Regions from separate parts of the Homo sapiens genome. Here all the other regions are linked to region 1. Evidence: promoter capture Hi-C in 16 types of primary human blood cells and fetal thymus (Javierre and others, 2016). All regions are on one chromosome and are shown on one strand. The core of a region is centred on a gene start or on the middle of the fragment in contact, and the rest is flanking DNA. Distances in the headings are between cores, read along the strand shown.

Region 1 (3,869 bases), core at 722-3,221:
CTGGCCCGAGTCTCTGTCCACCGCCACCACCTTGGTCACCAGGTAGCCGGGCTCTGCGGAGAGGGGCGCCAGCTCCACGCCGGTAGAACCATCTGTGGGGAGGGCGGGGTACAGGATCTCGGGCGCGTTGTCGTTCTGGTCCAGCAGGAATAGGCTGAGAGACACGTTGCTGCTGAGGGGCGGATCCCCACTGTCCCGCGCCATCACTTTCAGTTGCATGTCCCGGAACTGCTCATAGTCGAAGGATCGCAGCGCATACAGGACCCCAGTGTCGGAGTTGATGGAGAGGTAGGCAGATAGGGGTGCCCCCTGGATAGTGTCCTCTATTAGGGAGTAAGTGATTTGTGCATTCTCATTGCTGTCCAAGTCGTGGGCCCTCACAGAGAAGATGGAGGCTCCTCTGGGGTTGTTTTCGGGAATGTAGGCAGAGTAGGAGTCCTGATGGAAGACTGGGGAGTTGTCATTGATATCTGTCACTAGTAGTGAAATGTGAGTTTCAGTAGATAGAGCTGGAGTTCCTTGGTCTATTGCTGTTATTGTGATGTTGTACCCAGAGATAAGTTCTCTGTCCAGTGTTCTTTCAGTCACTAAACGGTAATAATTATCAACTAACTTTTCCAATTTAAAGGGTAAATTTCCAGGAATGAAACATGTGGTGTAGCCATTGTCTCCTGAGTCCTGGTCATGCACACTGATAAGAGCAATTATGGTCCCAGGAGGAAAGTTTTCTGGAACTGCAGTGGTGACAGAGGTGATGGTCACTTCTGGGGCATTATCATTTACATCCAAAACTTTGATCAGTACCTTAACTTTAGCCATGAGCCCCGCACCATCCTGGGCTTGAACTTCCATTGAATACATTTTGTATTCTTCGAAATCTAGTGGTTCTTTATTTGATATTTCTCCTGTGTAAGAATCTAAACGAAATATTTGGGCCACTCTGTGGTCTACATTGTGAAAGGAGTACGTTACTTCCCCATTGGCTCCCTCATCAGGGTCAGTGGCATTTACCATGAGCAGCTGAGTACCCAGCGGCACGTTTTCGGGGACATTTATATGGTATTGTGCCTGAGTAAATGCTGGAGGATTGTCATTTGCATCCACCACCTGAATGTAAATTCTGAGGGTCCCTGAACGGACTGGTTCACCCCCATCAGAAGCTGTGAGGATGAGGTGGTGGACAGCTTCTTCTTCTCTGTCTAAGGGACTCTGCAGCACCATCTCTGGATGTTGAGGCCCATCGGCTCCCTGTTGCACATCCAGGGAGAAATGAGGGTTAGAGCTGAGTTGGTAGCTCTGGAGTGAGTTCATACCCACATCAAGGTCTTGCCCAAAAGGCAATGAGACTCTGGTACCTGGAGTCGTTATTTCATTCATTTTAAACTCCAGTTCCTCTAACTGGAATTGGGGAGTGTTGTCATTAATATCAATTATTTCTACTTCAACAGGAAAAAGCTTCATTTTATCCTCAACAAGGATATTAAAACTCACGAGACACGGCATGCTCTGAGCGCAGAGCTCCTCCCGGTCTATCCTGCGCGCGGTGATCAAGCTGCCACTTCTAGGATTCAGAGCGAAAAGCGGCATCCTACCTCTGGAGACGATGCGGACTCCGCCATCTGCCAGCTCCTGGGGTTGCAGCCCTAGGTCCTTGGCGATGTTGCCTACGAAGGAACCTTTGTCTGTCTCTTCCGGCACTGAGTAGTGAATATTCCCAGCCCCAGCTTCCAACAGCAGCTCCAGAGAAAGACACAGAAGCATCAGCCTGCTGCAGCCAGTCAGCTTTTTCTGAATCTTCATGGCTCTCTCACTTCGTAGTTTTCTTCCAGTCCAGTACCAAGGGTATCGTTTCTGCTTTTCTGAGCTGAAATTAACCCAATTTTCAGGAGAATTCTGACTGGAGAGTCATCCAGAAGTAGGATTTAGGCAGTCTTGGACAGTCAGTTTTCAATCTGGCGGTTATGGAGGTTCTAAGAGGCACGAGAGCTTTTTTCTTTTTCTTTTTTTTTTTTTTCCTCCTCCTGACCTGTGTGTACTGCCTGTATCTACCAGATTAGTGAACAGCGGCGCCCACAGTCCTAACCAGTTACTGCATTCCTAGCAAATACTGAAAACCTTCTCATTAACTTGTTATTTTCTTAAGTTTTAGTCTATTGTCAAGGAAATAATTCTACAATATATGTATGAAAAAGAGAAACTATATGTTCACTTCTTTAAATGTGCCTAAATGTCACCAAATTGAAATATACAGGAGAATCCAAGTATTCCCATGTTATCTGCTTTCCAAGTTTGCTATTCAGGGAATTATAGTAAAAACCTAACATTACAATGAGGACAAAATCATCTCTCCACTTTTTCTGTAGTAAAGTTTGACCACTTGGTAATTTCCCAGGCCACATAGAGCAGCTCCCCTTTGACTGGAGGGTGAAAAGTATTAGAGGGAAAAATAATCTTTTAGAATATAAGCTAGACTTTAAAAAAATCATACCATCCCATTTCCTTCCCATTATGATTTGAATATTTATCAGAAACCTTGGGATTTTGAAGAGCATGGTTTAACCCTATCCTTATTTTTCCTCTTTTTTTTTTTTGAAGTGTCTTTGCATTATGTGGGTTTTTAAAAAATTCTTAAGATTCACCAAAGGCAATATATTTTGAAAAAAATAAAACTGGGCTCTTGGAATTTCATTGAAAAGTCACATGAATATATAATTTAGATTTCAAATTTCAGAGACAAAGTCTATGATATTATTCTTCACAGCTGAAAAGAAAAATGGTCTCATCTTTATTTTTAGATAGGCTCTTATAATATGTATTCCTCTATAATCGCACTTAATATTTTCTCCAAGAGAAGTTGGTTTTCTCTTAACAGTATTTTTTAACCAGTTGAGGATGTGGCCTTCTTTTTTTTTTAATCACTGCACTATTAGCAAAGGGTTACTAATTAAAATGTCTCAGGCTTAGAGTGACTTACTTATCTTTACCCCAAAGTTAGAGAAGCATGCTATCTGTACTCCAGAGTCTGATAATTTCAGGAACAAATTCGGCCAGCCAACCCATGGACACCATGACTGAGAAAAGTTAAAAATGAGGAAAGAAAGAAAACAATGAAAGGTCTCAATAATAGTTTTTGGAAAGAGAACTTTAGTTCTTAACCAAATCTACAGTTTCTCAGCTTCTCAAAGACAAGTACATGGAGCCAAAGAGTAGAAATTTAAAGGTGCAATAAATCATCTTCAATATTGCAAGGAAGTAACTCTTTAACAGAGAATGTAACTTTTCAGAATACACATTAATAGGCATAAACTTTTCCCCAAAGAAATTGTGAGCTAATGAGGTAAATTAAAATATACATAAGAACTAGTAAGTAAACCTGTAGAGCTCCCTACTTTCAGCAACCAAAAACACGCAGGAGTGATTTATAAAAGGATGGTAAGTATAAAATAAAAATGTTAAAATATCACACAAATACATTTGAATCAAATGCAACATTTAAAGCTTCATTGCTGCCCACACACAGTGGCTCACGCCTGCAATCCCAGCACTTTGGGAGGCCAAGGTGGGCAGATTACTTGAGGCCAGGAGTTTGAGACCAGCTTGGTCAATATAGTGAACCCCGTTTCTACAAAAACAAAAATAAAACAAAGCTTCATTGCTGGCACTGCAGAGAATACCTGGTTCAAAGCTGTTTCTTGAGTTAAAGAAATTAAGATTTTAAAAATATCTAAAACCACACATACGTTGTAGGAACAGGGCAAATTTCCTTTCTTTAAGTTGGAGACAACTCCATATCCGGGCTTGGACCAGAGATCCAGCTGAAAACAGCCCCAGGCAATGGAGCTATAGGGGGCATTGCAGGTTCAGAGAGA
Region 2 (3,869 bases), core at 533-3,032, 150 kb before region 1:
GCTAAGGGGTGGGTTGCCCCGATCCCGGGCCTGCACCTCAAACTGCAGTGTCTGGGTTTGCTCATAGTCAAAGGATCGAGTAGCATGAACAGCTCCTGTCTGGGGGTTCAGAGAGATGAAAGAGGAAGCTGATACATCTCGATTCCTGGGCTCCAGGAGTGAGTAGGAGATAAGCGCATTCAAGCCAGAGTCTGGGTCAGAGGCTGCAAGGGAGCAAAGCAGGTCCCCTGGGCGATTGTTCTCAGGAACAAACACCTCATGTGACCTCTGAAAGAAAGAGGGTGGATTATCATTCACATCTGAAATATTGAGGAAAATAGTTCTGTGGGTACTGAGAGGAGGGTTCCCAGCATCAGAAGCAGTGACCATGATGTCATAGCTAGATTTGGCCTCTCGATCCAAGGGTCCAGCAGTCACCAGGGAGAACTGGTTCCTGAAGGCAGACTTGAGGGCAAATGGCAAGTGGTCAGGAATGCGGAGGCTCACATCTCCGTTTGACCCTGAGTCTGGATCCTGCACACTGATAAGTGCCACCACAGTGCCAGGTTCTGCACTCTCGGGGAGGGTTCCAAGCTCTGAGGTCACTGTGATGTAAGGGGCATTGTCATTTACGTCCAGCAGATCCACTCGAAGGCTGCAATGTTGCTCCATGGCTGGAGAACCCCCATCGCGAGCCCGCACATCAAATTCATAGTAATTCTCACTCTCAAAGTCTAGGGGCCCCAAAAGAGTAAGCTTTCCAGTAGTGGGGTGCAGGCTAAAGAGGTTTCTTACACGATCAGGGGTATGACCACTGAAATAAAAGGTGACGTTACCACTGGGACCCAGGTCCGGGTCTGAGGCATTGAGCTGGATGAGCACCATGCCCGCTGGTGCGCTCTCCAACACACTAATCCTGTAGCTGGATTGCTGGAAGGCTGGGGCGTTGTCGTTTACGTCCAGCACGGATACCCGGAGCTCTGCGGTGCCAGATCTCGGCGGGTTCCCTCCATCGACAGCAGTCAGCACCAGGCGGTAGTCCGATTGCTTCTCTCGATCCAAAGGCTTCTCCAGGAGCAGCTCTGGGACCAGGCTGCCGTCGCTGCGCTTCTTCACATCCAGTGCAAAGTGTTCATTGGAGCTCAGCCTATAGCTGCTAATCGAATTGCTCCCCACATCTGCATCCTGAGCCTTTTCCAACGGGAAACGCTGTCCTGGAGGAGCTGCCTCCCCAATTTCCAAGTCCAGCTGCTGCCGCGGAAAACGGGGGGCGTGATCATTCACATCTACGATCTCTACCTCTGCTCGGTACATTTCCAAAGGACCTTCGGTGACAAACTCCAGGGGCACGATGCAGCTGGCACTGAGCCCACACAGTGCCTCTCGGTCGATTGGGTTCTTGATGAGCAGGGCTCCGCTGTCCAAATCCACACGGAAGTGTCTTTGGTTCACCTCTCCAGCGACCTGCAGCCTGCGAGCTGACAGACTGTCCGTATCCAGCAGGAAATCTTGAGCGACATTCCCTACAAAAGTCCCTTCCTGTGACTCCTCTGGGACCGGGTAGCGGATCTGCCCACAAACGTAACCCAGGTGGTAAAAGAGGAACAAAAGGGTAGCCCACCGCCAGATTTCTGTCCAGCTTCTCACCTTGCGGAGCATTGCTGCCGCCCGCTAATTCTCTACTTGCTCCTGAGACGCGGATGAAGCCGACCCGCCCCAAACAGCCACAGCAGCTGGAGACACCTATCTCCCTTTCCCCGCGCCAGCTCTGGCGCGGTTCGGCCGGCGCCGCAAGGGTTACGCGCCGTTTTTGCTGGTGGCGGGGTAGATTTGTCTGCCTTTCACCACCCGATTGGCAGACAGCGGCTCCCGGGCTCAGCCAATAGGCTGAGCAGAGAACGTCCCAACAGCAGCAGGGTTAATGCGTCGCAGCATTGGAGGGGAAAAAGCCCACCCTATCCTCCACGCTCCCCCACCCCCCAAAAAACCCAGCCTATCTTTTCGCCTTCCTCCCGCTCAACGGCATGTTTTTCCACGGGTTGTTATCTCTGTGGGGAGGCAGACAACATATATATATATATACATTTTTTTTCCTAACACACCGACTGACCCCGCCCCTTTTCGGCGGGGAAAACAGCCACAGCCTGAGCCCTAGCAACCTGCGGCCCACTGAGAGGGAGAGTAGCCATTGGAGAGTGGTCACTTTGTTCAAGCCAGTGTTGTCATCAACCAGTATTCTAAATGAGTAGCTTCCGTCTCAGTCTGATTGTATTGGAGCAACTGCTAATTAGAACCACTGCCATATACTCAAAACTCTGCCCTTCTGCAGAATATTCAGAAACGGATCCATCTCTTTGCAGAAAAGGCTTACACATTAACGTAGCCAATTAAATTTATGCAGTACATGTTCTCATTGTAACAGGAGACACAGCGGAAACCAAACCTTTCTTATTCAGACATTTGCTAGTGATACACTAGATACACTAAATTACCATTCATTGATTTCAAGGACAGTATGGAAGCGGGGTGGAGGAAGCCAGGAGAGGGAGATGTTTCAAAACAGTAAAGAATCAGTGTGTCTGGGAGGTGCTAAGGACCAGATCTCTTTACCTGGCAGAATGCTAATGTTCATAGATTTAATAGCTTCCTTGAATGATTGAGATCAGCTACCAACAGCATTGTGCCTACAAATTCCCTTTATCTGACACCAAGGTATTCTTGATCTTTTGTTAATTACCAACGAAGACCATTTCAAAAGAGCAAGCTTTTCACTTAGCCCCAGGGGACCTCTTGGAGCTGGAGACTTGATCTCACCCCACCCCCACCCTCATCCAGACCTCCCAGCAACCTAGCTACTCCCTTGCACAAGCACAGAAACACAACACAATTCACACCGTAGGTACCTACGACCTGCAATCTGAGTGGGAAACACACCAGAGCTCAGAGAAATAGAAAAATCCATCCTGATCTGGACATGAAATTTCTTAATTCAACCAAGTCCTTACCTAGGTTACACTGGCTGCCAAAAAAAGCAGCAACAACTGGAGTTCTTATCCTTCCCCAATATTTTTCCAAGCCTCGATCCTCAGGAATATCCTTTTGACTATGGTGGGAACCAATATTCTGGTGTCAAAAAGAGGAATCTGGCTTTCTGTGTTCTTTTACACACACACACACACACACAAACACACACCCCTCTATACCTTCTCCCATGGGAATGATGGAGGTGTAAACCAGCCTGACCTATTAGGTGTTTATGCCAGAATTCACTGTCTCTGTGAATGGCACTGTCAACCACCCAGCTTCCTTAGTCAGGATCTAGGGGGATCAGCCTTGACTCATCCCTGTCCCTCACTTCCTATATCATGTCAATCAACAAGTCCTGATGATTTTATTGTAGTCAGCTCCCTCCATCTGTACTGCCACTGTGCTGGTTCAAGCATTTATCAATCTTCTCTTCAAATATTGCAATAGCTTTCAAACTATTGCAAAGAGATAAGATCTCTTTGCCTCCAGTCCCAATGTCCCCAGTCCCTTCACTTATGACTGACAGAATAATATTTCTAAAACAAAAAAACCTCATGATATATGCATATCAGTTCAAATTTCTGCAGTGACTGTCATCTATATGGAATAAAATAAAAACTCCTTGGCTTGGCCCAAAGGTAACTCAGGATCTAACTCCTGCCTACTTGCTTCACCTCATCTCCTACAAAGACTGTCTGTTTTACACGCACACTTTTTTTTTGAGATGGAGTCTCTCTCTGTTGCCCATGCTGGAGTGCAGTGGCCTGACACCAGCTCATTGCAACCTCTGCCTCCCGGGTTCAAGCAATTCTCCTGCCTCGACCTCTCAAGTAGCTGCTCAAGTAGCTGGAATTACAGGCACC
Region 3 (3,869 bases), core at 380-2,879, 130 kb after region 1:
TGGGGCGGGAGTAGCGAGTAGTTGACCTGGGCGTTGGTGCCTGAGTCTCTGTCTGTAGCGCTGACACTGCCGATGTGCAGGGCGGGGCTGTTGTTCTCGCGGACGAACAGGGTGTAGGAGGTTTGGGTGAAGGTGGGGGCGTTGTCATTGACGTCAGAGACCAACACAGTTGTGTTGTGCTCGGTTTTCAGCCTGGGTATCCCCAAGTCGGTGACGGTGATGGTGATATTGTACTCGGCTGTGCTCTCTCTGTCCAGTGGTCTCTCTGTTTCCAACGTGTAGTAATTCTCAACTGAAGATTTTAGCACGAATGGGAGGTCTTCCGGAATGGAACAAACAATTCTTCCGTTGTCCCCAGAGTCTATATCTTGGATACTAAAAACCATAACCACGGTCTCTGGCGTATTTTCTGGGATTGGACTGGTAATTGATGACACAGTGATTTCAGGAGCATTGTCATTTACATCTATCACGTGAATTATGACTGTAGATTTTCCAAAAAGTCCTCCCCCATCTGTGGCTTGAATGATTATTGAGTATGACTCAATCGTTTCAAAATCCAGAGGTGCTCTTAAAGTAATTTCTCCAGACTTTTGATTAATTTCAAATGTCTTGCGAATATCTTCTGAGGCATGGGAAAAGGTATAGCATATTTCACCATTTGTTCCAGAGTCTAAATCCCAAGCTGAGACAATCAAAATCAGCGAGCCAAGGATGCTATTCTCCCGAATCTTCACCTCATAAAAAGCCTGCTCAAATTCAGGGGAGTTGTCATTAATGTCCACAACCACCACCCTGACCAAGGCAGTTCCAGACCTGGGAGGGGACCCACCATCCAGAGCAGAGAGGATGAAACTGAGCTCCGGGAGCTCTTCATAATCCAGCGCCTTGTCCAGAACTAACTCGGGGTATTTCCTATTGTCTGGAATGACTCTCATTTTAATGTGAAAATGAGAGTTGGGGCTTATTGTGTAGCTTTTTACAGCATTGATTCCTACATCTAAATCCTTCGCACTTTCTAGTAAGAACACAGCACCAACGGGACTGTTCTCTGGGATTTCTAGGAGCATTTGTTTTTCCGAGAAGATGGGAGAGTGATCATTTATATCCCTGACCTGAAGCTCAATTTGTAAAAACTGCGTGGGGTTTTGCATTAACACCTGCAAATGTAGCACGCAAGGCTCGATGGAACCGCAGAGCTCCTCCCTGTCTAGTGTTTCACTTAAGAGCAAATCCCCAGTGTTTATGTCCAGCTGCAAACGCTGTTTCTTATCATTAGAGACCACCCGAGCCCCCCGTGAGGACAGTTCTCTCACCTTCAGCCCCAGGTCCTTTGCCAGATTGCCTACAAAACTCCCGCTCTGCATTTCTTCTGCCACAGAAAAGCTCCAGGTTTCAGAGCCCGCCTGAGACATTCCGAGCAAAACAAAGAGAAGCAGGACTTGCCTTATCTGCTGAGTGCGTGTCCCTTGGTTCTCCATAGTTCCTTTCTTGTAGGCTTCTTGAAGAAAGGCTTCAGCTCTGCGGAACGCGTCTCTGACTTGTCCACCAAATCCTCTGTGGTCTAAGGATTTTAACCCTGTTGAATGGTTTCCAGGTCACCCTCTTGAAGGCTTGTTGTTTCTGTCTTCTGATTCTCTGTGTGCACTGGATATCAGTGTTCACAACGCCATCCAGTGAATATATTTTTCACGATGTTATCCTGCAGCGCCACCAAGTGTCTCCATAGATTTTCACAGTTTGGTGAAAGCTACCTAAATTCCATTCACTTATATGTCCTCCGGAAACAAATATTGTTTTATTCATTGTGTTCAAGTGATTACAAATATATTGCACGTTCTGTAATAATTATTTCATATTCTCTTTAGTTTGATATGCTGTTAATATTCATCTTAAAGCATTTATCTTTCCCCCTTCTCCATACAACCAAACGTGCTTAGTTGTGGTGAATACAGAAATACAAGATGTGATTCCTGGCTCCCAGTGGTTTGTAATCTTTCTGAGAAGACTGGAAACATAAAACAACCATAATATTTTTAAGCTGTACAAAATTCTATCACTACTTGACTTTCCTTAGGTGGTAATGAAAAGGCAAACTATACATGGGTCATTTTAGAAGTCCTCTCAGAGGATATGAAACTGGATTAACCATGAGATGGGACATACTTTGATAGTTATGATAGCACAAGAAGGCATTTATATAGATTTCCTTGGTAGCAAGGAATTGTGAACTGCTAGAAAGTAAAGTAAGATATTGGGAGTAGAACACATTATGAGAATCCTTGATTTAGTTCCAGCTTCTCAAAAAATAATAAATACACAAGCACAAGCATGTTAGTTTCATTTAAAGCAGGCTTATTTCTAAGACTGCCCTCCCTCAGTTTCCCAAGATTTATTCCAGCAACATCTATGGCTATCTGCTTTGTTTTTCAGCTCAAGAAGACAGAATGAGAGATATTTTCTTCCTCAATAATAGAACAAAATCTTAGCCTTCATTCTGATTAGACCAACTGAGAGCACTTCAGCCTGTTACTGAAGAAATCAGTGTCTCAAGATGTATAGGATTAAAGGTAGAGATTATAGTCCCAGAATCTAAAGACTCCATCTTTGACCCTTTGTTTTAATCCAGGCAGAGATTGCCCCTTAAACTTGAGGTGGTTTCAGTCCTAGCCAAAGTGCATGGCATAATGAGGGAGATAGTTGGAATAGGTGCTTGGAAACTACCAATGGTATCCACTGTTAGACATCTCAAAGTACTCTCAATAATGGAGGACATCTAAGAAGTCTGCTTTTAAAAATTCTAATTTCAAATTACATTCACAAAAATGTGAACTAGATACATGGTTGAAAAATTATCAGTGCAGAAGAGTAGAAATTGAATAGTATGTGGATTGACTATACAATTATCCTTCCTTCTTCTTAACCCCTCTCTAAAATGACAGAAAAGTAATAAAAGGTATGAATTCACAAAGACTAAGAATACATAAGTAAATACACAAATTATTTGATGATAGAAAGCAGATGAAAGAGCAATTGACAATAGTTCCAAGAAATGTCTAAAATAAAGTTCCTTCATTGGAGATACTAAAAATAAACTACTGGGTTTTCCCTACACAATCCTAGTAGGTACCAGACTTGGAGGAACCAGGTGTATAAGAAGGCTGAAGTCAAGTAAGGGCTTAAAAAAGAAGTTATTAGTTGAAAGTATGTATGTAGGATAGTTGAATTCTCTGGTCTTTTCACCATCATACAGAGACAAGAAAATAACTGAGAGCCAGAGAATGGAAAGCTTATACTCTGGAGAAATTAGATTATATTCTGGAGAAATTATACTATCTCCAGTCTTGGAAACCCCAGGCAGAGCTGAGTGAAAGTAGGAGGTATGAAACTAAAGATAGGGAGATTAGGCAAAACACTGCCTTCTGTATTGTGAGACTCCTAGCCATGATACTCTCAGATTGTAGGACACAAGATATATGCCTGACATCTTCCCCATCGCACCCAAAACATTGAATATTGTAGAATTCTATCCTGGGGAATATGAAAGGCGCAGATAAAGACTTACATGTACTGATATGTGGGGGTTTCCCAAGGTAGTAGCTCTATCCTAGCATGGTTACATTAGAGTGAAGCCCTGTCATCAATACTCATGAAGTGTTGACTGTCAGCATTTGCTGTGTCACCATTCATATATATAATAAGACAGTCAAAGATAACAAGACATTTGAGAAAATGCCTACAACATGAAATAGAAAAGCCAAAACTGTAATACTACCGCCAAGCACAAAAAGCAACAGGAGGGAATAGATATAATTCAGAAAACAAAAGAAAGCCTTTTAAAATGTCTGATTAGTATCCCCAGAGAAACA

Evidence for each region. The method cuts DNA at HindIII sites, captures the fragments that hold promoters and counts their contacts. A CHiCAGO score of 5 or more calls a contact.
Region 2: the fragment with the promoter of PCDHGC4 here is called in contact with the fragment with the promoter of PCDHGA1 in region 1 in 8 of 17 cell types (naive CD4 T cells, naive CD8 T cells, total B cells and 5 more); the score reaches 7.0 in naive CD4 T cells.
Region 3: the fragment with the promoter of PCDHB11 here is called in contact with the fragment with the promoter of PCDHGA1 in region 1 in 2 of 17 cell types (endothelial precursors and M1 macrophages); the score reaches 5.5 in endothelial precursors.

Annotation. Positions count from the first base shown.
Region 1 is chr5:141,328,616-141,332,484 of GRCh38, reverse strand. PCDHGA1 (protocadherin gamma subfamily A, 1) reads right to left here and starts at 1,971. Exons shown (of 4, transcript NM_018912.3): 1 at 1-1,971. The coding sequence starts at 1,800. It also overlaps PCDHG@. The HindIII fragment of the contact is 2,043 bases long and covers 1,458-3,500 here.
Region 2 is chr5:141,482,943-141,486,811 of GRCh38, reverse strand. PCDHGC4 (protocadherin gamma subfamily C, 4) reads right to left here and starts at 1,782. Exons shown (of 4, transcript NM_018928.3): 1 at 1-1,782. The coding sequence starts at 1,638. All of the region lies in intron 1 of PCDHGA1 (protocadherin gamma subfamily A, 1), which reads right to left. The region is part of intron 1 of PCDHGA2 (protocadherin gamma subfamily A, 2); the gene reads right to left. The region is part of intron 1 of PCDHGA3 (protocadherin gamma subfamily A, 3); the gene reads right to left. It also overlaps PCDHGB1, PCDHGA4, PCDHGB2, PCDHGA5, PCDHGB3 and PCDHGA6, and 12 more genes. RefSeq lists a silencer at 1,684-1,911. The HindIII fragment of the contact is 2,008 bases long and covers 738-2,745 here.
Region 3 is chr5:141,197,387-141,201,255 of GRCh38, reverse strand. It overlaps PCDHB11 (protocadherin beta 11), which reads right to left and starts at 1,629. Exons shown (of 1, transcript NM_018931.3): 1 at 1-1,629. The coding sequence starts at 1,481. It also overlaps PCDHB@. The HindIII fragment of the contact is 6,869 bases long and covers 1-3,291 here.